Regions from separate parts of the Homo sapiens genome. Here regions 1 and 3 are each linked to region 2. Evidence: promoter capture Hi-C in 16 types of primary human blood cells and fetal thymus (Javierre and others, 2016). All regions are on one chromosome and are shown on one strand. The core of a region is centred on a gene start or on the middle of the fragment in contact, and the rest is flanking DNA. Distances in the headings are between cores, read along the strand shown.

The links. The method cuts DNA at HindIII sites, captures the fragments that hold promoters and counts their contacts. A CHiCAGO score of 5 or more calls a contact.
Region 1: a fragment that was not itself captured here is called in contact with the fragment with the promoter of POLE2 in region 2 in 1 of 17 cell types (fetal thymus); the score reaches 5.4 in fetal thymus.
Region 3: a fragment that was not itself captured here is called in contact with the fragment with the promoter of POLE2 in region 2 in 2 of 17 cell types (activated CD4 T cells and naive CD8 T cells); the score reaches 5.9 in activated CD4 T cells.

Annotation. Positions count from the first base shown.
Region 1 is chr14:50,094,660-50,098,958 of GRCh38, forward strand. The region is part of intron 1 of LINC01599 (long intergenic non-protein coding RNA 1599); the gene reads right to left. Among named protein-coding and RNA genes, the nearest start is that of LINC01599, 8.2 kb to the right of the region's middle. The HindIII fragment of the contact is 908 bases long and covers 1,538-2,445 here.
Region 2 is chr14:49,685,346-49,690,011 of GRCh38, forward strand. It overlaps POLE2 (DNA polymerase epsilon 2, accessory subunit), which reads right to left and starts at 2,869. Exons shown (of 19, transcript NM_002692.4): 1 at 2,791-2,869. The coding sequence starts at 2,858. RefSeq lists enhancers at 2,106-2,867, 2,868-3,627 and a silencer at 2,932-2,981. The HindIII fragment of the contact is 3,892 bases long and covers 1,405-4,666 here.
Region 3 is chr14:50,176,708-50,181,308 of GRCh38, forward strand. It overlaps SOS2 (SOS Ras/Rho guanine nucleotide exchange factor 2), which reads right to left. Exons shown (of 23, transcript NM_006939.4): 7 at 3,865-3,975. Among named protein-coding and RNA genes, the nearest start is that of SOS2, 53 kb to the right of the region's middle. The HindIII fragment of the contact is 5,834 bases long and covers 1-4,329 here.

The DNA of each region.
Region 1 (4,299 bases), core at 742-3,241, 410 kb after region 2:
TCCCACTACATTATCCAGGCTGGTCTCAAATGATCCTCCTGCCTCGGCCTCCCAAAGTACTGGGATTACAACAAGCGTGAGTTACAACACCTGGTCAGATTTTTTTTTTTTTTTAAAGAAAGGCAAAATTTATTATTAGACTCAAAATATTCACAACCATTTTCTTTTTTTTTTATACTTTAAGTTCTAGGGTACATGTGCACAACGTGCAGGTTTGTTACATAAGTATACATGTGCCATGTTGGTGTGCTGCACCCATTAACTCATCGTTTAACATTAGGTATATCTCCTAATGCTATCCCTCCTCCCTCCCCCGACCCCACAACAGGACCCTGTGTGTTGTGTTCCCCTTCCTGTGTCCAAGTGTTATCATTGTTCAATTCCCACCTATGAGTGAGAACATGCGGTGTTTGGTTTTCTGCCCTTGCGATAGTTTGCTGAGAATGATGGTTTCCAGCTTCATCCATGTCCCTACAAAGGACATGAACTCATCCTTTTTTATGGCTGCATAGTATTCTATAGTGTATATGTGCCACATTTTCTTAATCTAGTCTATCATTGATGGACATTTGGGTTGGTTCCAAGTCTTTGCTATTGTGAATAGTGACCTGGCCAGTTTTAAAACTTGCTCTCCTGGCCAGGTGCAGTGGCTCATGCCTGTAATCTCAGCACTTTGGGAGGCTGAGGTAGGAGAATCGCTTGAGCCCAGGAGTTCAAGACTAGCCTAGGCAAAGTAGCAAGACCTCATTTTGTTGTTGTTGTTGTTGATTTGTTTGTTTTAATAAGTTTTAAAAAAGAAAAAAGGCCAGGCACAGTGGCTTACACCTGTAATCCCAGCACTTTAGGAGTCCGAGGCAGGTGGATAGGCCAAGGCAGGCAGATCACCTGAGGTCGGGAGTTCCAGACCAGCCTGATCAACATGCAGAAACTCTGTCTCTTCTAAAAATACAAAATTAGCTGGGCATGGTGGCACATGCCTGTGATCCCAGCTACTCAGAAGGCTGAGGTAGGAGAATCATTTGAACCCAGGAGGCGGAGGTTGCGGCAGTGAGCCGAGATTGCGCCATTGCACTCCAGCCTGGGCGACAAGACCGAAACTCTGTCTCAGAAAAAACGAAAAGAAAAAACAAAACAAACAAACAAAAAAACACTTGCTCTCCAGATGGCAAACCTCACTGCCCAAGTACCTCTCCTAATACATGTTGCAATTCTCCCTCCACTTCTCAGGAACCCCCATAATCATGGGGGTTAGAACCAAGCCCCAGAATCTACCTCCTTATGTAAGCTACTCATTTTCTCATCTCTTGAGTTATTCTCACTAAATAATGATCCCTTGATTGGGGGATGGAGAGGTGCAGGCTTGAACACTTTCTGGGTGCAAAGAAGTACATTTCCTCTTTTGTTACATTTAAATCAAACCACTCCCACAGCAGGTTTTTGTTTCCTCCCTTTTACTTTCTGATGAGTTTCATAACGCTTACTTTTGTAGTTTGATAAGATCTCCACAGTATGATCAGCAACCAACACTATTCTAGAAAGCTTCTAAATCAACTGTTAAGATGATCTGGTGGGTATTATGGACAAAATGCAAACTTAAAAAGCAGATTACTTTCTGGGAAGGTAATGATTGAGAAGGATCTTAAGAGTAGGGTTTAATGGGCTGAAAGGTTTGAATGCTCTACCAGTTAGGATCTGATCCACTGCAAGGGAGAGAAACCCAGCCCCAAACCAGCAGAACAGAGTTAACTAGGTGAGGTAACTGGGAAGTCCAGGAGCTGCGGTGGCTTTAGACATAGCTGGCTTCAGAGACTCAAACAGAATCATCGGAAAAACGTTCTAATTTCTCTGTTTGCTTCTAGACTCTGCTTTCCTCTATCTTGACTTTTACTCTTGAGCAGCTCAAAACTTACTTTATCCTTGGCACTAGCTACCCCAGAAAAGAAGGGCCTCTTATGCAGGGGGAATCCTGTGGGTTAGCCTCGGTCAGGAAACCCAAGTCTCTCCTGAACTTGGTGGGCTATTGGGAGTAGCATGATGAAAAGTCTGGAACCCCAGGTTAGGAGTACGCTCTGCCACCACCGCCTGCACAGATAAGTGTAGAGAGATATTGAAGGTGGGGAGACTATTAGAGGAGTGAGGCCCAACCTGAGGTGATGATGGCCGTGAAGATGGAAAGTGGGGGAAGACTGTGAGAACCCATCACAGATCAGTGTATGACACGCTGAGTTCATGTGAGGCAGAAGAAATTAGAAATGCTAAAAGAATGGTGATGCCATTAGTAAAACAAGAATATGAGGCAGAAGAGTCTATTTTTGCAGAAATTTTGCTAAGACATACTCTTGGTTGGGCAAGCAAAGGAAGACATCAGGCAGGCAGCTGAAGGGGAGAGGTCAGACTTAAGAGAGGGATCGGAGCTAGAGGTCTAGAGAGGGGGCCTCTACAATAAGCTTGTAGTTGGAATCATGAAAATTGCAAGATCTATGTGTGCAGAGGTGAGTGGTCAAAAGACAGAGCCCCAGGGAATTGTGAGTTAAGCAACAGAGAAGGAAAAGGAACGAAGGATGGTGACGGAGGAGCAACCAGACGCTGGGCGGAGAAAGTCAGACCTACTTAAGTCAAATAGGAGAAAAGTTCCAGTATCAAAAAGAAAAAGAAATAGATCCACATGTTCAACAATATTTCCAATATTGGTTCTATACTCATATTTTCCTCATTCCTTTTCATAAGTGAACTCACAATCAAACTAAGTCCAACGAGCAGCTATTGAGGCTACAAGATTTACTGCTTTCTGAATACCAGTGGCTTCCATCCTAAGTTGTATTCATCTGAGACCTGAGTTGCTTATCATTAGTAACAACATATTCATTTTGGGGTCTTCTCTCATTTTTTTTAGAACAAGGACCAGGTATTAAAACAGCTGCCCAAGTACCAAGGTGCAAAGATGGCACTGCTGCAGATAGCTAAGCTGCTAAGCAGGCAGCATCATTATGTTGACTTGGGGGCAGATGTATAAAATCTAATCCTGGCAGATGAAAGTCAGGTTGGAAGTCTCAGTGTATGAAATACAAAAATGGGAGCTATATGACCATCAACCTGTTTGAGAACTGACTGTCCCTGGAGTCAAGGCAGAAGATATTTCAGTATTTCACCTTTAAGTGTTCTGTTTTTTTCCAATAATTCCTTGAATTTTGGTACTTCCCAGGGCCTTAACCTGGGCTTTCCCCCAATCTATACATTTGGGGTGATCTATAAGACCTCAACTTGGCTGGGCACGGTGGCTCACGTCTGTAATCCCAGCACTTTGAGAGGCTGAGGCAGGTGGATGGCCTGAGGTCAGGAGTTCGAGACCAGCCCGGACAACATGGCGAAACCCCGTCTCTACTAAAAATACAAAAATTAGCCGGGTGTGGTGGCACGCGCCTGTAATCCCAGCTACTCAGGAGGGTGAGGCAGGAGAATCGCTTGAATCTGGGAGACAGAGGTTGCAGTAAGCCAAGATAGCACCACTGCACTCCAGCCTGGGCTACAGAATGAGACTCTGTCTTGCCAAAAAAAAAAAAAAAAAAAAAGAAAAGACATCATCTTTCTCAGTCCACCCTCTCTTCTGCCCCCAAACCTATATACGGTCATCCCTCAGTATCCATGGGGAATTGATTCCAGGACCACCCACAGATATCAAAATCCACAGATGTTCAAGTCCTTTGTATAAAATAGTGTAGTATTTGCATATAACCTATACACATCCTCCCATATAGCTTATTACTTTTTTATTGGACTGAATTTATTTTTTTATCTTCAGCTTTTAAATTCAGGGGTACATGTGCAGGATGTGCAGGTTTGTTGCATAGGTAAACGTGTGTCATGGTGGTTTGCTGCACAGATCATCCCATCACCTAGGTATTAAGCCCAGCATCCATTTGCTATGTGTTTGCCCTCCACACCCACCCCCTACCCCCATATAGTTTAAATCATCTCTAGACTACTTATAATACCTAATACAATGTAAATGTTATGTAAATAGTTGTTATACTGTCTTGTATAGGGAATAATGACAAGAAAAACTCCGTCTGTACATGTTCAGTACAGACACAACCATCTATTTTTTTTCCCGAATATTTTCAACCTGTGTTTGGTTGAAACCCATGGAACTCACATATACAGAGGACCGCTTGTGTTTAGCTGCCTATTACATACATGTAACCAGGGTCACAGTGTGTGGCCACTCAGGCTGGGTACAGCAAAGAGCAACATTGGAAGGGGACACCATTCACACTGTAGACATCATTATTGTTTTGAAGT
Region 2 (4,666 bases), core at 1,619-4,118:
CCATCCTTCCACAGAGTTCTAAATACACTTGAAGGTGGTCCATAAATATTTGACCACTGAGTCCCTAAAATCATATACATTTTGGTTGCATCTTGGGACAGTTCTTAGCATAGACCAAAGCCTGTAAAGCCATACAGAATCTTGCCCCTGCCAAATCCCATTAAGCTCATACCATGTCCCTGGCCTTCCTGGCACTCTCCTGCTTTAGGGTCTTTATATGGCCATTTCCTCCCACTCTTCTCTCCACCTAGTCAGGTCCTGTTCTTTCTTTTTTTTCTTTCTTTCTTTTTTGAGATGGAGTCTCGCTCTCTTACCCAGGCTGAAGTGCAGTGGCGTAATCTTGGCTCACTGCAACCTTCACCTCCCGGGTTCAAGCGATTCTCTTGCCTCAGCCTCCTGAGTAGCTGGGGTTACAGGTGCACATCACCACGTCTGGCTGGTTGGTTTTTTTTTTTGTATTTTTAGTAGAGACAGGGTTTCATCATGTTGGTCAGGCCGGTCTCGAATTCCTGACCTCGTGATCCGCCCACCTCAGCCTCCCAAAGTGCTGGGATTACAGGCGTGAGCCACTGCGCCCAGCCAAGTCCTGCTCATTCTTTAAGTCAGCCCAAACCACTTCTGCAGTGAAGTTCTTCCTTGACTCTAGGGCAGTTTATACACCTTATCATAAACTCTCATAGCCCTTCTTTCCTGGAATCCCTTTCACAATTGAGATTAAATAGCTGTAAAATAGTCATTTAATATCCATGGTAGACAGACTTCTAAGATGGCCCCTAATAATCCATTACTCCTGGTAGTTACACCTATGTAATCCCCTGCCCTTAAGTGTGGGCTGGACCTAGTAACTTGTTTCTAAAAATAGAATATAGCAAAAGGGATAGAATAACTTACTGTATTATAATTTTGAAAGTAAAATTTAAAAGTAAAAAAAATTTAAAAATAACAAGATGTCACCTCCTTGATTAGGTTGCCTCAGAGTTACTAGAAGACTCTCTCTCTTGATGAAGCCATGTTGGGGGCACACATGGCAAGGGACTGAGGATAGCCTCCAGCCAACAGCCTGCCAGGCAATCAGGAACTGAATCCTGCCAACAACTGAATGAGCTTGAAGCGAATGCTGTCTGGACAACATTTGAGATGATCCATCTTGACTGCAACCTTGTGAAAAGACCCTGAAGTTGAGGACCCAACTAAGCCACACCTGAATTCCTAACCCACAGAAAATTTGAGATAATGTGTACTGTTTTAGCCTTTAAATTGTGGGGTAATTTGTCACGCAGCAATAGAATACATTATCTGCCCCCTACAAAGCTCTTGCTCTCTATTGCACCCCCTTACCCCAGCACGGTGCTTTGCAGCTAACAGATTTAAGTATACTTATGACTGAAATAATTAATGAACAAAAGCTTAATATTAGGTCAAATTCTAAGCGAAAAGAAAGTTAATTCATCAGTTCCTCATGCTTTCAAAATGTCAAGGACCAATTGAACAAAATTCATTATTTTCTCCCAAGGCATCTCCCAAAGCACAGTTAAAAGTCCCATAAAACTCACAAAACCAACCAAAAATCTACACACACAAAAGCAATAAAAACTGATACAGAGAGGTATATCCAATCCAGCAGGTATTTCAATATGTATAAAATATTGTGTTCTAGGTCAGGCGCAGTGGTTCACGCCTGTAATTCCAGCATTCTGGGAGGCCACGGCGCGAGGACTACTTGAGCCCAGGAGTTCAAGACCAGCCTGGGCAACATAGCCAGACCCCGTCTCTAAAAAACATACAACAACAAAAAATCAGCCAGGTATGGTGGCCCATGCCTGCAGTCCCAGCTACTTCAGCCCAGGAGGTTGAGGCTGCAGTAAGTCAAGTTCGCATCACTGCCCTCCAGCTTGGGCGAGAGTGAGACCATGACTCAAAAAAAAAAAAATACATATATATATATACACACACACCACACACACACACACACACACACACACACACACACACGTACATATAGAACTCTAAAACACGGAGCAGATTTAATGAGAGAAATCTTGGGAAGGTTCATATGTTCTATAGGTCCTCAAAAACACGGATATGCCCAGGAAACCTGACTTTCACATAAATTGGCAACTGCAGACGTGCAAGTGGGCTTTCTCGGGTCTCTCATCTTATGTCTCAGCAACCTTCCCGGGAGCCTGAGAGCTGTCCAGGTCACAATGTTGATAACCGGCTGCCATAGATAGGTTGCAGCTTCTCGGGCTCAGTTTGACATGTGCAGAAGAGCCTCGGCCCGCCTAGAAGAAACATTAAACTCCTCGCATGGGTCGGGGAAACCAAAGAAGGCACGGCAGCCTCAAGATCCACCTCGCTTCTTAGAACTTTTTTTTAATGGAGTCTCTCTCTGTCGCCAGGATGGAGTAGAGTGGCACGATATCGGCTCACCGCAACCTCCTCCTCCCGGGTTCAAGCGATTCTCCTGCCTCAGCCTCCCAACTAACTGGGACTACAAGCGCGCGCCACCACGCCCAGCTAATTTTTGTATTTTTAGTAGAGACGGGGCTTCACCATGTTGGCCAGGATGGTCTCGATCTCCTGACCTCGTGATCCGCCCGCCTCGACCTCCCAAAGTGCTGGGATTACAAGCGTGAGCCACCGCGCCCGACCGCTTCTTAGAACTCTGAAATTTAAGGTCAAGCCCCCTCTCGGCGCGCGGGGAGCCGCCGCGGTGCGTCCCGCTGCCGCACCAGGCAGACGGGCCCCAGCTCTTCCCTCTCGCCCTTCAAGCTGCCCGAGCCCACTCACCCACGGAGCAGCAAGCCCCGCAACTTGAAGGCGGAGAGCGCCCGGCTCCGCAGCCGCTCCGGCGCCATATTTGCGATTTGGCGCCACCGCCGCAGCTCCGCCCCTTCCCGGGCGCGCCCCTCCCAGCTCCGGCCTCGGCCCTGGCCCGCGTGGCGCTAAACCCTGTTAAGATCCCTGCTTGGTCTCCGCTGCCTGCGCCGCAGCAACTCAGACCTTACAGTTCGCAACCCCGGACCGAGTAGGCTGAAAGTGGAGACCACCTCGCGCTCCTTTGCTGCCGGGAAACTGAGGGCCAGAGCGTCTTCCCTGGTGTCGGGCTGCGTTGAGCCAGCCACAGCGCTCTCACCGCTGCCCTAGACATTGCAGGACTGCGGCCGAGCTTCCCGGACACAGGATCCCCCTTCTTTCGAGGCCATGAGAGCTGTTGGGTTCCCTACTTCGCACAAGCTCTGGAAATACTGTGCCTCGACATTTACCGGAAGCTGTTATAAATCTCCATCGCTCCCACCTACCCCGATTTTTATTTAACTTGAGGGCTTCGTATGCGCCATGCACTGTCATAAGCACTTTAAATGTGTGAATTCATGTGTTGCTCATGACAGCCCAGTGAGCTGTCTACTGTCTTTTCCACAACAGCCTCATTTTACAGATGAGAAAACTGAGACACAAAAATGGTAAAGGACTTGCTCAAGATGAAACGACGAGTTAAATGGTGTAGTCAGGATTTGAACTCAGTTATTCTGATTTCAGGTGGACTGTCAATCTGCCACACTTCAAAACGCTTGCTCCAATGAGTTGACTAACCCGTGGAGTGCTTATAAGTAAACACGCGGCTTATAAAACAGGAGGATGATTTCACAGTACCAATATAAAGTGACCTCCAACGTATACGGGTTTTTTTCTTTTTTAAAAAAAAGCGAAGTTTAATGAAGGAAGGGAAACAAAAGTATATGTATTTGTTTTTGCATTTTAAAAACCTCTGGGCCCGGGCGCGGTGGCTCACATCTGTAATCCCAGAACTTTGGGAGGCCGATGCTGGCAGATCACTTGAGGCCAAGAGTTCGAGAACAGCCGGGCCAACATGGTGAAACCCCGTCTCTACCAAAAAAAAAAAAAAAAAAAAAAAATTAGCCAGGCGTGGTGGCGCGCGCCTGTAATCCCAGCTCCTGGGGAGGTTGAGGCAGGAGAATCTCTTGAGCCTCGGAGGCGGAGGGTGCAGTGAGCCGAGATCGTGCCACCACTCCAGCCTGGGCAACAAAGCAAGGCTCTGTCTCAAAAACAAAAAAAGCCGGGCGCAGTGGTTCACGCCTGTAATCCCAGCACTTTGGGAGGCCGAGGTGGGCGGATCATCTGAGGTCAGGAGTTCGAGACCAGCCTGACCAACATGGAGAAACCCCGTCTCTACAAAAATACAAAAAAATTAGCCAGGCATGGTGGCGCATGCCTGTAATCCCAGCTACTCGGGAGGCTGAGGCAGGAGAATTGTCTGAACCCGGGAGACAGAGGTTGCGGTGAGCCGAGATGGGGCCATTACACTCCAGCCTAGGCAACAAGAGTGAGACTCTGTCTCAAAACAACAGCAACAACAACAACAAAACAACTCTGGAAGGTTAAATCAGAGACCACAAAAATGGTTAACTACAAAGGGGTGAGGGGATAGGGATGAAAGTGAAAACTTTCTTTACAGTGAGACTTTTAATCCATGTGCATGTTTTACATATTCAAAAAATAGAAAATAAAAAGGTGAGCTTAAAATTGAATGCATACTAAAACTAATACACCTAATTGTATATTAAATTGGTAACATAACATCACAAGTGATTTTTGAACACAGTTCTCTTTATTTAGTGAAATATTTTTCAAAGACAAAAAGTAC
Region 3 (4,601 bases), core at 163-2,662, 490 kb after region 2:
GTAACACAACCATTAACTGGGGCTGGGCGTGATGGCTCACGCCTGTAATCCCAGCACTTTGGGAGGCTGAGTCAGGAGGATTACCTGAAGTCAAGAGTTTGAGAACAGCCTGGCCAACATGGGGAAACCCCATCTCTACTAAAAATACAAAAATTAGCCAGGTGTGGTGGCATGCGCCTGTAGTCCCAGCTACTTAGGAGGCTGAGGCAGGAGGACTCCTTAAACCCAAGAGGCAGAGGTTGCAGTGAGCCAAGATCGCGCCACTGCACTCCAGCCTGGGTGAAAGAGCGAGATTCCGCCGCAAACAAACAAACAAAACTATTAATTGGCCCAAAGCCTTAAGTTCTAACTTCAAATCTTATTTTTTTAAGTCTGCTACACAGTCCAGGTATGGTGCCTCATGGTCAACAGAACAGCCTAGCCAATATGGTGAAACTCTGTCTCTACCAAAAAAATACCAAAATTAGCCAGGCGTGGTGGTCCACACTTGTAGTCTCAGTCACTCAAGAGGCTAAGGCAGGAGAATCGCTTTAACCCGGGAGGCGGAGGTTGCAATGAACTGAGACTGTGCCACTGCACTCCAGCCTGGGCAACAGAGTGAGACCCTGTCTCTAAATAAATAAATAAATAAAGTACGCTACACAGCTTCTAAAGATGCTTTTTGTTTTTAGTTTTATTAAGGAAGCATTATTTTATCTTAAACTGAATGAATTTTTTTTTAAGTTAAAACAATTGAGTTTGGCCCGAAAAAGGATTTCATCTAACTCTTCCAATTTCACTGAATATCTAGGATGACAGCTTTATTAATAACTGGGCCCTTTAACATTCAAATTCCACAGCAAAAATTCCTAATAAAATAGGACTGAAACAAGAAATGTGTTGAGTGCTTTTAATGAGTATCCAAAGTTCTTATAGACTGTGTATTTAATGCATACTTTATATGAATATATGAGTTAACTTTAAAAATATTCCTCTCTTGAAGTAATTTTGAGAATTAAGTATAATTTGTATTCCATGATAACAAATTTTTGACAATAGAGAAGTGGAAGATAATAAACAATGGGAATTTATAGTACAGAAGGCAGGGAGAAGATGGTAAGTTCAGTTTTAAACATGTCATATTTGAAGTGCGTTTAGGGTATCCAAGTGCATCAATTCAAGGCAGCTGGTTATATGAAAGTGTATAGATACATACACATATGTACACGGTACACAGTGCTTAAAAGAAAGTGATGGCCTGGAAATACAAATAAGAAGTCACCAGTATATAGACATGAAGTCACCCAAGGAGAGCACAGAACAGAAAAACAGGGGCTGATAACAGAAGTTGGATAATAGCTATAATAATTAAGAGACTTAGAAGAAGAAATCAGAGAAGACGAAAATTGGGAACATGTAGTATCACAGGAGCTGATATGGTTTGATTTTGTGTCCCCGTCCAAATCTCATGTTCAACTGTAATCCCCAATTTTGGAGGTGGGGCCTAGTGGGAGGTAACTGGATCATGGGGGTGGATTTCTTCCTTTAATGCTGTTCTTGTAATAGAGTTCTCAGGAGATCTAGTTGTTTAAAAGTGTGTGGCACCTCCCTGCTCCTTCCTCTTGCTTTGACCATGTGAAGACGTGCCTGCTTCCCTTTTGGCTTCCGCCATGATCGTAAGTTTCCTGAGGCCTCCCCAGCCGTGCTTCCTGTAGAGCCTGTGGAACTCTGAGCCAATTAAATCTCTTTTCTTTATAAATCACCCAGTCTCAGTCTTCTTTTTCTTTTTTTTGTTGAGACAGAGTCTCACTCTGTAGCCCAGGCTTGAGTGCAGTGTTGCAATCTCGGCTCACTGCAACCCCCACCTCCTGGGTTCAAGTGATCCTCCTGCCTCCAAGTGATCCTCCTGCCTCTGCCTCTGTAGTAGCTAGAACTACAGGTGTGCACCACCATGCCCGCTAGTGTGTGTGTGTGTGTGTGTGTGCATATATATATATATATATATATATATATATATATATATATACACACATATACACACACATATATATATATATATTTTTTGGAGACAGGGTCTTGCTCTGTCACCTAGGCTGGAGTGTAGTGGCACGATCTCGGCTCACTGCAACCTCCGCCTCCCGGGTTCAAGCAATTCTCCTGCCTCAGCCTCCCGAGTAGCTGGGATTACAGGTGCATGCCACCACACCCAGCTAATTTTTGCATTTTTTAGTAGAGACAGGGTTTCGCCAGGCTGGCAAGGCTGGTCTGGAACTCCTGACCTCAGGTGATCCGATCCACCCACCTCAGCCTCCCAAAGTGCTGGGATTACAGGCATGAGACATCACGCCCAGCCTTCAGGTATACAGGAACCAAGAGATAAGAGCAGTAACAAATACTACAGACATTAAGTATGAAATAAAAATATCCACTGGATTTGGCAATTAAGTTACTTGTCAAAGGCAATTTATATCCTGATTAAAACATACATGGTAGTGTTTTCATAAAGAATGGTAAAAAATAATATAAAGACAATTGGCTGCAAAGAAAAAATGAGAGAGGAAATGAAAAAACTTTCTTCACTCTAGTTAATTATTCTACTAGAGTGAAGAAAGGTTTGTTCATTTGTTTGCTTGTTTGTTTCAGGACTATAAGGATTTTTACCATATTCAAACGTCAAGGGGTAAAAGCCAGTTTATTTTTTATTTTTATTTTTTTTGAGACTGGGTCTCACTCTGTACCCAAGGCTGGAGTGCAGTGGCGTGATCATGACTCATTGCAGCCTTGACCTCCCAGGCTCAAGCAATTCTCCTGGCATGCCACAGGTGCACGCCACCACACTCGGCTAAGTTTTTATATTTTGTAGAGATGAGGTCTCCCTATTTTGCCCAGGCTGGTCTCAAACACCTGGGTCCAAGCAATCCTCTGACCTTAGCCTCCCAAAGTGCTGGGATTATAGGCAAGAGCCACCACGTCTGGCTGGAAAAGTCAGTTTAGATGTAGAAGTTTTACATATTTAGCCAAGTATTACCTATGCCAACATAACTTTTGTTGTTAGTGTTGAGATAGTAAAAATAAAATTTTATTTGTATCTCTCCACTTATTTTCATTTTATCTAAGTGTATTCCTGAACCAACTAACTTGCATACTCTCCCTCAATACAGTATTTATCTCCTTTAAATTGTAGGCCTCATAGAAAAATCAGTATGAGTACATAGGAGGTTGAGGTTATCTCAACTTTTTAAGATTTCTCCAAATCTTCCTCCTATAGGGAACATAATCCTGAAATCACACTCCAGATTCATCTTTATTTTTTATTTATTTTTCTATTTATTTTTTGAGACAGAGTCTCACTATTCCACCCAAGCTGGAGTGCAGTGGCGCGATCTCGGCTCACTGCAACCTCCGCCTTCCGGGTCAAGTGATTCTCCTGCCTTAGCCTCCTGAGTAGCTGGGATTACAGGAGCTCACCACCACGCCCAGCTAACTTGTGCAATTTTAGTCGAGACAGGGTTTCACCATGTTGGCCAGGCTGGTCTCAAACTCCTGACCTCAAGTGATCCACCTGTCTTGGCCTCCCAAAATGCTGGGATTCTAGGCATGAGTCACTGCACCCAGCCAAATTCATCTTTATACCCCAGATCTAGTATGTGCCAAATTCTTCTGGTCATTCAGTACTCATGATGTTGTACTATAAAAGATTTCTACAATAAGAACAGACAGAACTCCAGAGAGAAAACAGAAGATAATCCAAAACAGGTTTAGAATGAACAAGATTTGAAGGATTACGAGGATTCCAGAATTACAAATATTTGAAGGATAAAATAGTGAGATATTTATTTGCTTTATTAAAAAAAAAAAAAAAAAAAACCTTCAATTTAAGTTTACCTGAAAGTGTAGAGCAACTGCAGGTCTGGCCATCAATTTATTGAAATGTTCATGAAACTCTGGTGAAAGAATGTCCTGTGATAATGTTTCATAAGGATCAAATGCTTGCTCCTATTTTTTTAAAAAGAGAAAAAGCATTAGGTTTAAAAGAATATATTTTCTACCAATATGGTACAGATTATTATCACTTGATCCCAGGAGTTCGAGGTTACAGTGAGCTATGATTGTGCCACTATATTCCAGCTCGAGCAACAGAGTGAAACCCTGTCTCAAAAGAAAAGAAAGAAATGAAAAGAAAAAAGAGAAGAGAAGAAGAAAGATTTCTTTTCCCATTAGACTGGCAAAAATTAATGGGATATCTGCAGAACCGATATGAAAACAAAACAAATTTTGAAAAAAAGAATTAAAAAGAAAAAGAATAAGGTAATACCGAGTTAGTGAAGGGAAAGGGTGAAGAAAGAAGGAAGCTTACATACACTGGAACTTAGCTGGAAGTGAACGTGGCAAAGTGTTTCCAAGTTCTAAAAATGTATCTAGTCTTTAGCACTACAATTCCACTTCCAGGAATATATCCTTAAAAATGATTAGAATATATGACTGGGCGCGGTGGCTCATGCCTATAATCCCAGCACTTTGGGAGGCCGAGGCGGACGGATCATGAGGTCAGGAGTTCGAGGCCAGCCTAGCCAACAGAGAGGAACACCGTCTCTACTAAAAATACAAAAAATTAGCTGGGC